Regions from separate parts of the Homo sapiens genome. Here region 1 is linked to region 2. Evidence: promoter capture Hi-C in human tissues and cell types (Jung and others, 2019). All regions are on one chromosome and are shown on one strand. The core of a region is centred on a gene start or on the middle of the fragment in contact, and the rest is flanking DNA. Distances in the headings are between cores, read along the strand shown. Region 1 holds the start of TF (transferrin). Region 2 holds the start of C3orf36 (chromosome 3 putative open reading frame 36).

Region 1 (6,312 bases), core at 506-3,005, 180 kb before region 2:
CAGGGCAGCAGTGGTCACTCTCCCTCGCTGGTGAGGCTGATGTGTTGGGAAAGCCAGACTTGACTTCTGTCCTCACTGTAAACAGAAAGCTTCTGTAGTGGACTCTAAAGTGGGAGGTATGTAACCCCTTTGCATATGAGATAATCTTTTGGAGTGTGGGAGAACATAATCTAACTTCCAGTTATATTTATTGTTATTGCAAAAGATTAACAAATTATCATTCATTCATATTGAATGTGTGAATTGGCCCTATCTCCCACCTGAGTCTGCAGTCATGACAGATGGAGCCTTTCAGGTGTCCTAAGGGAAGATGGGGTTCACCTCACAATGCTAAAGGTGAAAAGGGGAGTGCCGACCCTGCCCTTTGTTTTGGCATTTTTATTTCCATACTTTGTGGTTTGTATGTGCCCAGTTAAACGGATGTACAGATTAGATAATCTGGCTTTAACTCCAACCTTCACGAGATGCACACATGCCTTAAAAAGATTCTTACAAAGAAACTAGAATTAGGAGACAATTCTGACAACACAAAAACAAGTGAACAAAAATCAAATGACTGACCTGACGTGTCCACTAGGCTTGATATGAGCTTGGTCAACTAAAACATGAGACAGAATGAATGACCATCTGGTCAGGTTGGATAAGAAGTAACTTTTGGCAAAATCTCTGAAGTCTGGATTTACACTTCGTGGAAGGAATCTTGACCTTTCCCCAAGTATATTATGCCTTGAGATAATAATCCTGTATAAGGCCGCATAAGCAAAACGACATTTGAAAATGAGTTTCATCTTTAGCTCATCCTTTTACAAATTTCTATTCCTTGTGCATGATTGAAGTGTACACATTTTTTAGTTAAAATATAAGCATATAGAAGGCACAAGTTCAATATTTTTCATGATAAGGATGTGTAATTAAACTGGTTAGGAGACTCATCGACTAGAGGGGGACATGGTGGCCCCAGGCTGTAAGAACAGGCCACACCGTCCACTGGGCCGCTTGCTTTGTGCTAAGATGACACTTTGTTCTGAGCCTCACAGTGTCTTGACCATGTTCCTGGAACCTTCTTGTTGGAGGGAGTTCATCTTCCCCTATGACTCTGTCCCTAGTCTAAGGTGTCCCACAGGAAGCTTGAGGGCGGGAAGTTTTCCAGCCCAGGAGCCTGAGCTCAGCGGGGCAGGAAGAGGGAGCAGCTCCTCCGTGGGGGACCTTTGAGAGCCCAGGAGCAGGATTTCGAGGGACACCTGGTGGGGAGCAAAAGGTGCTGAGTCTGTCTTTGACCTTGAGCCCAGCTTGTTTCTCCTGCATCCTCCCCCAAAAGGGGCTTTGCCTGTCATTCTGCAGTTCTAGTGTGGGGTCTGGGCGCAGTTCTTTTCCCTCTCCAGCCTCGGAGTCTTCCTCTGTGGACTGCGCAGATAGGACTGGTGGCACGGACCAGCTCTGCAGCCCTGGAGTCAGGAGCAGAGCCCCCCGGCTCCCAGCCCGCCGTAGCCGCTCCTGGCACCGAGCGAGCCGCGATGACAATGGCTGCATTGTGCTTCATGTCCCTTCCCATCAACATTTCTGTGCTGGACTCCTTCCACTCGCGGGTCGTCTCCAGAGCTCAGAAAATGAGGTGATCAGTGGGACGAGTAAGGAAGGGGGGTTGGGAGAGGGGCGATTGGGCAACCCGGCTGCACAAACACGGGAGGTCAAAGATTGCGCCCAGCCCGCCCAGGCCGGGAATGGAATAAAGGGACGCGGGGCGCCGGAGGCTGCACAGAAGCGAGTCCGACTGTGCTCGCTGCTCAGCGCCGCACCCGGAAGATGAGGCTCGCCGTGGGAGCCCTGCTGGTCTGCGCCGTCCTGGGTGAGTGCGGGCACGGGGTAGCACCGCAGAGTCGCTGGCCCGCGCGTTCCCTGCAACCCGGGCGGCCACCGCGCAGCCTGCATGCACTCCGCGCTCAGGCTGGAAGCCTGGGTGTCTGGGTGCCTTTCCATTGCCTCTCTACGCCCCACCCCTGGCCTTTGCTTGGGCTTCTAGACACCTTTCACTGCACTCACTGTCTTCTCCCCCTCCTCCTCTTTGTCCAGTAAATCTTGCAGCAGTGAAATACAATAAATCAGAGCACGTCTAACCAGGTTATCAAAACCCTTTGCTGCTGCCTCTTGTCAAGTCCGAACTCCTTAGCATGGCATTCAAGGCCTCCCGGGTCTGACCATTCCCCTTTCAGAGGCTGATGTCCCCTGGGTGCCCTGGGAGCTGTAGATGTCCTGCCAAGGAAGCGGTGCCATCGAGCGGTCAGAGCATGGGGTTTGAAGCCAGACTTCTTGGATCCAAGTCCTGGCCGGCTCCTCACCAGGGAGGGGGTCATCACAGCACTTGCCTGGGAGGGTCAAATGAGGGTCAGCGAGGTGGCAGATGCTGAGTACCAGTGGCAGATGTTGCACACATCCTGCTATGGGGCAGTGGCTGACGCCACACTCCCCGACCTCCTGAGGTGGGGCCCCCTTCATACTCTAACTTCTGCCTGCCATTCATGGGGCATTTGTCACACTGTTGGGGCTTCCACGTTTAGTTTTCTCTCCCCATAAGCTAGCAATTCCTTGAGAGAGGACCCCACGTTACTTGCCTTTATCCCCGCACAGAGCACTTCACAGGCTGTGCAAGGTAATGCTCCACTGAGGACACATTCTCGCCTATGGGAACTCTGGAGGCAGGGCTTTGTGGAGGGGCTGCCACAGGCTTATGTTGCCTCCTAGGATTTCCCATGGGCCAAGAGGGAAAATGGGGGTCGCTGGGGTGGCCATCCCTGGTGGCCCCTCCTCATGCATCCTGGAGAGCTGTGGGCCTCCTCTCCACAGGCTTTGTGGATCTTCTTCAGAGCCAGTGAGTCAGCCTTGCTGTGGTGGCCCACAAGGAGTGGAGATGACAGAGGGCCTTGGGGACAGGGCAAAAGCTCATGTGATAGGGATGCTGTCTCTGCAACCACATGGATTTTAATAGTTACCCATGGCTGGCTTCAGCTTTTTTTGTGAATGGCAGCCAAAAAGTGTGGTGAAAATGGAGGGATAGTTCAGTGGAGACAGAGGGGAGACTGTTGAATTTGTGGAGTTTTTAGTTCTTCCTAAACAGAGAGCAACAGACAAGAGTTACAGACAAATTAATTCTTTTCGTTAATTTACCCTCAACTACTGGCCAAGAAGGGGTGTAACTCAGAATGTTTTCTTCTTTTGTGCCCTGAGTAGCAGACCCAGAGTCTGGAGACCCAGATTCTAGGCCTGGCTTGGCCAACGACAAGCAGGGTGACCTTGGGTTAAAAAAAAAAAAAGGCATCATTCTCTGAGTCTCACTCCCTCTTCTCAAAAAGATGGCAATTCCTCCCCCGCTGGTTTTCCATAGTTGAGGTAGCAAGCCAATGTGTTGGGGTAGCTGAAAACGCCCTGTGCATACTGAGGCTTATGTTCCATGGGGGGCCAGGGGCCAGGACAGTGATGGGAGGAGACAAGGCGGATACAGAGGAGCAGATTGTCATCTCCAGCTGGGAGGTGATGGCCATGCCTGCACCCCTCTGGCCAGCAGAGGGTGGTCAGTAGGAAACTGGGAGGCCATTAGGGCAACCTTCTATTGGCTCAGACTCAGAATGCAGTAGAACTTGTGCCCTGTAGTGTTCATGGACAGGAGTGAGAGGAGGACAGGACTGAGGGGATGTGGCTGTCAAGGCCTTTCTAGGGGCGATGCTGTCTCTCCCTCAGCATAGGGAGTGGGCCCTTCCACCTCTGGCCTCTCTCCCCCAGGGCTGTGTCTGGCTGTCCCTGATAAAACTGTGAGATGGTGTGCAGTGTCGGAGCATGAGGCCACTAAGTGCCAGAGTTTCCGCGACCATATGAAAAGCGTCATTCCATCCGATGGTCCCAGTGTTGCTTGTGTGAAGAAAGCCTCCTACCTTGATTGCATCAGGGCCATTGCGGTAAGTCGCTGCTGCCTAAAAGAGAGTGGAAGAAAGCCATACTTTCTCTGTTTCCAGTCACTTTGGAACAATTCTTTACTCACAGGTAGGAGGCTGATATATGGGGCAGTCAACCTTGACTTACTAAAATCACTTCAAAAGTGGAAATGGGGAGGTTTTCTTTAATGTGTCTGGAAAGCAAAAGTCAAAAAGCACATTAACTTTTGCTTTCCAGACACAGTAGACGCAAGGGTGACTGTTTTGAGACCCTAGGTTCTCTGAACTTGGCGAAAATATAAGAATGCCTGCTATCAGGCTGGGCGCGGTGGCTCATGCCTGAAATCCTAGCACTTTGGGAGGCTGAGGCAGGTGGATCACCTGAGGTCAGGAGTTCGAGACCAGCCTGGCCAACATGGCGAAACCCCATCTCTACTAAAAAATATAAAAATTAGCTGGGCATGGTGGTGCATGCCTGTAATCCCAGCTACTTGGGAGGCTGAGGCAGGAGAATCACTTGAACCGGGGAGGCAGAGGTTGCAGTGAGCCAAGATCCTGCCACTGCACTCCAGCCTAGGTGACAGAGTGAGGCTCCATCTCAAAATAAATAAATAAATAAGAATGCCCACTATCAAAATTATTATATAACCTTCTTTGGCAGCTTTTGATACACAACTGGGAAGATGAGTGATGCATGCAGGGGGAAGAGTAAAGTGTCCTGATTGCAGGTGACAGCTGATCTTTTTGTTCTTAGGTCTACAAAAATGCTCTTCATTCTTTCAACGTTGCCCCTGCCCATCTGTACATGTCAGATCCTGTGCTGGGCAATGGGGCTGCAGTGGTGAATTAAACACATTGGTCCTTACCCTCAGGGAGCTCATGGGCTAGTCAGGAGAGCAGAAAAACACACGAATAAGTAAACTACTAATTCCAAAATGTGGGGATGTACAATGGAGGGAAAAAGGAGAGTGTTCTGACAGGGACTCACAGAAAAACCTGCTTTGTCCTGGGTGGTCAGAGACCATCTCTCTGAGAGAGATGTAATGAAGGACTGAGCCTGGGTGGGCTCCAGTGTAAAATACACCAGGCAGCAAACAAGAGCATATGCAAAGGGCCTGAGGCAGAGCAGAGTGGGCTTATTTAAGTTGCTAGTGGGAGGCCAGGGTGATGGGAGCTGTCAAAGATAAGCACAGCCAGATATTAGTTTAGGCAGTGACAATAGGTTTCATTCAGTAACTGCTGACAGTGGGGGAAAGAGCTAGGCTCCATTCTGATTTGTGCAGTGGTGATGTGAGCATTTTAAAGGGAGAATGAGGGAGGGGAGAACGCAGGGCTCTGTAGAGTCAGAGAAGTAAAAAGGTAGAAAGGGCTGGTCAGTGTAAATGTGAGGAGGCCAGCTGTGTCTGATAGCTGGCAGTTCTCTCGATTAGGACTCTATTCTCCCGCAGAGACTGCGAGACAGACACTCTATCCATCCTGATGATTGTGTTGCAAAGGAATGGCTCTCAGTCCTTGAGAGAGATGCTTGTGAGTTTCAAGAGATACATATTCACAGTTTTAAGTCCTTTTTAGTAAATTCTCTTGGAAAGGGAGGTCAGGGGCCTATCATCAGTTGTGTGTTGAGTAGAAGAAACAGGTACATTTTCCTGGCAGCACTGAGTTTTCTCAGGCAAGCACTTTAAGGGGAACCGGGCCATCCTAGGGACACAGATTTGTTCTGCTAGGAGCCATGCCAGAGTCTGGTCAGGTCTCTTAGTGCAGAGGTTTGGACAGATGTGTCAAGTGTGGGAAATTCTACAGTTCTCAGCACAAAGCAAGCAGTAGGTTAGCCGAAGGGAAAAGGTGGAAGAAACATCCAGATGCAGCCTGGCTTCCCTCAATCCCCGCGCTGGGGTTTTCCGTGTCTTTCTGCTGGCTTCCCCTTGGCTTCCCTCCAGCCTTCTCTCTGTAGCTTTCCCTCTTCTGGGTTTGGTTATTTTGACTTGTGAGAGCTTGCTTGATTATAATCCTGTCCCTCCCAGCTGGCGCAGGTTCCCCTGGGAACCCTGCAGCTCTAGGGCTGGACGCTGTGTTTTAGGCCTTAGCTCTTTGGCTCCCTGAGCCCCCGAGGCACCAGTGATTTCTTGGTGTCTTGGCAAAGAAAGACCAGGTTCCTGACCACTCTCCCAACCCCACTGCAATGGGCAAAGCTCTCGTTTGTTTGCTTCATTTTTTAAAAAATATATATATATTTTATTATACTTTAAGTTCTAGGGTACAAGTGCACAACATGCAGGTTTGTTACATATGTACACATGTGCCATGTTGGTGTGCTGCACCCTGTTTGCTTCATTTTTATTCAACAATGTGAGGACTGGGGAAGGGAAGGTGTTTGCAGATTAAACAAAAC
Region 2 (6,191 bases), core at 2,367-4,866:
TTCTGGTGCTGGGATGGGCTCCCGCATGGCCTTTTGCTAACCCTGCATTCTGCGCTGGCTCATCCTGGCTGCCAGGAGCCTGTGGGTGCCTGGGATGCTCCTGCTGCTTGCTGGTCCTGCCCTCGGCTCTGACGTCTCCTACTCTAGTATCCCAGTGGCCATAATGACAAGTAGGCCTCCCTCCTAAGGACCTTTGCCAGCCAGGTTCCCTCTTCCAAGTACACATGTAGCCCCAGTGGCCTTTTACACCCTGAAATCTGGTTGCATCTTGCCTCTGTTAAAATTCTGTCAGCGACGCCCCATCATCCACCAGCAGCACCCTGTTAGTTACTAAAGGAGATGTACATGATACACTCTCTCCCTCTAGAATCCACCACTCACCACGCTCTGCCTGAGGCACCTTGCAACTGGGGGCGCTACTTACACCCTGCCCTCCAGGCAAACATGGTCCAGTTTTCTCATCTCTGAGTCTTCACTCCTGCAGTCCCCTCCGCCCAGAACACCTTCTCTAAGGCCCCTGTCAACAAACTTACCCTATCCTTCCAGGCACAGTTAGAGCTCATCTCTGCTCCAGATCTCCAATCCCTAGGGAACGGGCCTCTTTCACCTTTGTTAATCCACCACATACACCGGCTTCCCCCTGCATTTCCATGCAGGCATCTGTCTGTCTGTTTGCACTTCTCCTTCATGGCACTATTGCACCTGTAATTGATCAGCCAATTGCAGCCACAGTTTGGATGCTTTCTTGGTTGTCTGTCTGCCTTCTGTTTGTCTTGTTCACCTCTATAGGCCTGGTGCCCGGCTTGCCCGGGTACCTGAGTCTGTGACGGGATGGGTACCTGCCCCTTTCCCGGGGTGGACAGTGCCTGGAATGCTGACAACAGTTTCTTTCCGACATGCAAGCCTATCTCGGGGCCAGGCCCCAGGAGGTGCTGTGGTGAAGGTTTTGGGAATTGGAAGGAGGAAGCAGAGGCTACCTAGCCCCCTGCAGTGGCTGAATAATGGTTCCCAGATGGTGCCAGTGACGCAGTGGGGAGGCTGACAGCTTCTGGGTGCGAATGGCCCCACAATGCGGCCGGGGACCACCCTGCTCACGGCCGGTCAGAGAGCCTGAGGAAGCCGTGTGTTCCCGCGGGCCCTCTCGGTGCCTCGTGGCACCTTACTCTCTACTCCTCTTGTTCTCTAACGTGTTTAATACACTTTCGTGCAGAAAACATAAATAGACTAAACGGTGCTTTATCGCGGGCAGTCAGAGAGGAAGTTTTCTCGAGGCTGTGTCCCGTGAGCAGGCGCCGGTGGGCTCAGCCGCCGGGCCCTCCGAGTAGGGGAAGGCGTGCGTGCGTGCGTGCGGTGGGCGCGGGGAGCCCCGCAGGCCCGAGGGCGCCCCGGCGGGGAAGCGGGCTATCGGAGGCGCGCTGAGCCGGGTGGTGGAGTCCCGCCCGGCTGGCTGTGGGGCCGCGGGGGCGTCCCGTGGGCGGGCTGGGCGTGGCGCCTCCGCGGGTGGCTTCCCCGGGCCGCGGCGGAGGGGCGGCGCCCCCTGGTGGCGGAATGCGACTCCAGGGCGCAAGGGGCCGCCCACCCCGCCTCGCCCACCCGGCGGGGGCCTCCGCGCCTTTTCTGAGAAAGCCAGAGGAAAGGAGCCGAGACCGCAGTCCCCTGGGCCCGTTTCCTCGTCTGTGGAATGGCATGATTATTGCATCTCACAGGGCTGTCGTGAAGATTCAAGGAGCAAATGTATGTAAAGCGCTTCGGATGTCTGGTACATTCTGAGCCTTCAACCCACCTGAGCTGTTGAAACTCTGGGATTCAAGCGATTCGGGTCAAAGAGGAACGGTGTGACACCTGCCTCTGTCCTTTCCAAGGTGGACTCAGGGATTGCATACGTCTCATCCAGAACCCCCAGTCTCTCTTTTGTAAGCTGGCGGTCATGAGATGTAATGAGGAAAAGGTTTAAACAAATGTTGGTCCCTATCTGGGACCTCTGAAGTCACTTTTAATGGATTTGGGGATTTTACAGATTTAAAAAGGGGTGCCTACTGTGGCCCATTTATAGACCTGTGGAGCGAAGAGAAGGAGATTAGTCACACTGGGGGCCGGAGTAGAAGCCGTTTTAAATTAGTTGCCCCGCTCTGCCTTGAGACTGAGACTTTCTGACTCTCAGTTTCACCCTTGGGTTCCAGCACCCAGATGAGAAGAGAGAGAAGGTGGAAGAGGAAGAGAGGGAGGGGATAGAGCAGCGGCCACCACCTCTCCCTGAGAGGGCGCAGAGTGGGTGGTTCCCCCCAGGTGAGCAAGGTGGGGGCCCCGTGGGTGTGCTGGGTAGGGGTGGAGTGTGCTGGGAGCACGCGGGAGGACTGCGCCTCTGCTCCTCGGGGTGTGGCGCGGCCCACTCAGGAGCCCCTTCCAGTGTAGACTCCAGGAGGGTACTCTGAGCTAGGAATGCCTTCCTGAGCGTGGTTGGTGGGGGCTCTAAGGCCATTCCTCCAGGCCCTGAGGGGGCAGAGAGACACGTGAGCACTAACCCAGGAGCCGGGACTAGGCTGAGCCCACTACTCACAGCCTGGGGTAAGCCAGCCTCAAGACCCTCCAGGATGGTCTCAGCCTGCATCCGACTGCCTCTCCTGCCTGACCACTGCGCTCCTTCACAGGCCTCTGGCCGGCGAGTTCTCAAGATGTGCAAAGGTTTCCTGCTTCCTTACCTTTGCACACCTTTGCTTATTCCTTTTGCCCAGAAAGTCTTTCCCAGCACATTTGACTCTCTTGAATTCCAGTCTCTCCCGCATGGCTAGGATCAAGCCCGTTCTCCCATCGCTCATCAAATGAACTCAGAGCATAGTACTTTGCCCTGTGTTAAGGTCTTGTCTTAGCTCTGGATTATATGTCCTTGAAGGGTAGGGACCATGTGTTTGTCACCACCTGTCCTTATACACATCAGGTAGTACATAAATCAAGGGAGGCGTGAGGGACAACTGGAAGGAGCCTCGTTTTCTCCATGTACAGGATGGGACTAGTCATAGTGGCCGCACAGGGCTGTGGGAACTCTGGTGCGATTCTGCCATGAGTCACCCCATCTCCTCCTTGCCTGCAGGGTCTCGCTCCATCAGCTGTCCTCTTGGACCCCGCAGCCTCCCCATCCTGTGGCCTTTTGCCCCAGCAAATCTCTCCTCTCTGAAGCCATCCTTTCCTTGACCCTGCATCTCTCTCAGCCACCACCCCATCTCTGCCTCCTCTGAGCAAAATCGTCTTTCCCACCTCCCCAGCCCTCTGCAGACTGCCTCGGCCTTGCCTGGGCATCATCCCCTCAGCTTCAGGGACCCACAATTGGTGCTTCCTCCATTGGGAAATCTTTCCAGACTGTGCTTCCCAACCCCGACAGCCCCGCAAAGCTGGTTTAAGTGTCCCGGTGAGCAACTGTGTCCACCTAGGTTCACTACCCACAGTAGAGGGTTTTAGTGCTCAACCATATCTGCTCTTTTCTTCTCCTGAGCACACAGAATATTCTGTTCCGCTCTTGCGGCAGCTAGGCTGGGAGCAGAGTGAAGAGCGTTACTTTGGGACAAAGCATTGCTTAGCAGTGCGGGATCTTCCAGGACTTTCTTCCCCTGCCCCATCCATCATGGCAGCTTATAATGAAATGGAGGTACCTCAGGTTCCAAACAGTCTGAGTTACTGAGACACTGGTTGGGGGGGCTCTCAGGCCAATCCTCCAGGCCCTGAGCAGGCAGAGGGGCACTACTGAGCCACTGACCTGAGAGTCACCCAGATCACCACAGGTTCTGTGAGCGAGATACCATCTTTTGTTGTGTCAAGTGACTAAGATTCGAGAGGTTTGTTACCACAGCATAGCCAAGCCTTTCCCCACTGATTTACTGATTAAAGAAGTGTTTTAAATGGGTTAATGGCTTGGTAAACTGTAAAGATCTGTGCACATTTTAGTTATTATTATTGCTGTCAAGTTGTAGCAGGGCTGGAGACATGATGTGGCTGGAGAGTGGAGGAATGGCCAGGGTATGCCATGGAGAAAAACTTCCTCTCATTTATGATTTGCCAAGGGCTTTTCCAGGATCTGTTTCCATATTTAATCTCTGATGAAAGGTTATAATGAATCTGGTGTCTGGTGCTACTGGCAGGAGATGGACCTTTCTTCCAGGTATTTACTTCCTGTGGTTGCGAAAGATAGGATGTATTTCTTCTGGATTTGCTGCAATATAATATTTTAGTATCAATTTGATACTGACTGGCTTCAGCCTCCAGCTTAACTGTATCTCTCCATCTTTGAGAGTGGTTGAATAAAATCACAATATGGCTTTGTTTCTTGAGCAAGAATCTGCTAAGCAGTCACCAGATGGAGCTGTTCCCTTGAAGGTCTGTGTGCAGGATTCTCAGGGCCTTTTCTTCTCAAAACCCTTCCCTCTTTGTCTCTTTTCTCCACAACTCTCTTTAACTCATGGTGCTATAGGGATAAATTGGCCCTGTTTAATGAATAGTTGTGATGTTGTTGCTAGTTGAATAGAAGGTAAGTAAATGAACTGTTACCTGGTTCTTTTGCCTTTGTTACCCACCTTAATGGCCCTCAAGAGATTCCCCCACTTCCCTCCCATGGGCCAGTGAACATCAGTGGGAAAAGAGGGGCCTCCCCACCATTTTAGTCCATGCTGACTCTTCAGAATGACTCAGCTGGGGCAATTGGGCTGGACCAGAGAGAAGTGGACAGCCTGGTTTGAGTCTAGACCTGGCCAGCTATTATCTATGTGAAATTGGCCACAATGGTTGCTTCCTCGGGATCAGATTCCTCACCTTTACATGGGGCATCCATCATGGAGGATCACCCCAAAGGGCTTTGGGCCAAAGGATAATTGATAGAGATACGGTATTTAGTTATCACTGTATTTGCGCTTTTTCCAAGAAGGGTAAAAGAAGGATTGAATAAAAAAGGTTCCTGCACACTCTTCCTTTTCCGGCTTTTTTGTTCAGCCCTTGAGGAGCGGGATTCTGTAGGGAGAGGGAGTGGTGCAGAGGAGTGGGCTTCCTAGGACTGGGGCCGGGAGAGGGCATAGCCGCGAGTGTGCACAGGGAGGTGGGCCTAACCCTGGGGTCTCGGCTTTGTAGGGTTTCCAGGCTCAGGTGAGAAGCAGGGCCATTAAACAGCCTCAAATGGGAAAGGGACCAAAGACCCACAATGGCACCCTTGAATGCGTAGGCATCCAAGGACCTTCAGATGGCTCTAGGAGCCAGACCCAAGCATGGTTGATATTGAATTTCCAGCCAGACAGTAGGATGGGGGGTTTGAAATCAATAACTGATTTAAAGAAATAAGTGATTTTTTTCTTTTTGCACATCCAAGCTTGTGAAGTGAGAATGTCTCTCTCAGTACTGATAAGGGCCTCATATAAATGTGAGCTCTTGGATTGTTTTTCATGCCCATTGACTCTTAGTTGCAGCCATCCAAAAAATCAGATTCACAGGCATCTCTTCACCTTGTTATCCTTCACTCACCTTTGAACATACCAAAGGCCTATCGAGCCTGTAAATTTCTCAGTGGCCTAAGCACAAATGGGCATACCCCAGGCTCTATTGCACTGACAGCCCACCTCACAGGATTTGGGAACTACCCACATCAATCTCATGAGGGGGCCGTTAAAAGAGCCATTCCTGGGTCCCCATTAGACCCACAGAAGTAGACGCTGGGGCTGGGTGGAGGGTGTTGGGAATTTGCATCCTCTGTGAGTGTCACACACTCAAGAAAGTTTGTTAAGCTTTGCTCTAGAAGTGAAATGAAAGTGACACTATTATATTCCCTGCTGACAGCTGAAAAGAAAGATTTTCTTGGGAGTAGTAGTACTGGTTGTGACCATGTGATCAATTTGATTATGATATTAATTCTGTTTTGTGCCATGGACATAGCTGTTTGCGTCCAGCTCCGCTTCTGGATATAAACCCAAGAGCAGTGATGCGGCCTTCTCAGAGCCCAGCAGAACTTCACTGAAGGAATAAGCAGTGTCTGGTACTTGCCTGATACCAGGCTAATGGGTTGACAGTTGCATTACCTCTAATCTCCATGGCCATGGGCCCCTGGGGTCTATGTCATGAGCACTTCCTCTGTTTACAAGATGCAGGTGCCGGCAGGGCGCAGTGGCTCATGCCTGTAATCCCAACACTTTGGGAGGCTGAGGCGGGAGGATCACTTGAGG

Evidence for each region. The method cuts DNA at HindIII sites, captures the fragments that hold promoters and counts their contacts. A contact is called where the count stands out against the background at its distance.
Region 1: a contact is called between the fragment with the promoter of TF here and the fragment with the promoter of C3orf36 in region 2, in 1 of the 25 tissues and cell types used here (psoas muscle).

What each region holds. Positions count from the first base shown.
Region 1 is chr3:133,744,638-133,750,949 of GRCh38, forward strand. It overlaps TF (transferrin), which reads left to right and starts at 1,756. Exons shown (of 17, transcript NM_001063.4): 1 at 1,756-1,846; 2 at 3,775-3,947. The coding sequence starts at 1,804. The HindIII fragment of the contact is 10,529 bases long and covers 609-6,312 here.
Region 2 is chr3:133,926,196-133,932,386 of GRCh38, forward strand. It overlaps C3orf36 (chromosome 3 putative open reading frame 36), which reads right to left and starts at 3,617. Exons shown (of 1, transcript NR_161373.1): 1 at 1,950-3,617. RefSeq lists a silencer at 1,246-1,775. The HindIII fragment of the contact is 10,560 bases long and covers 1-5,550 here.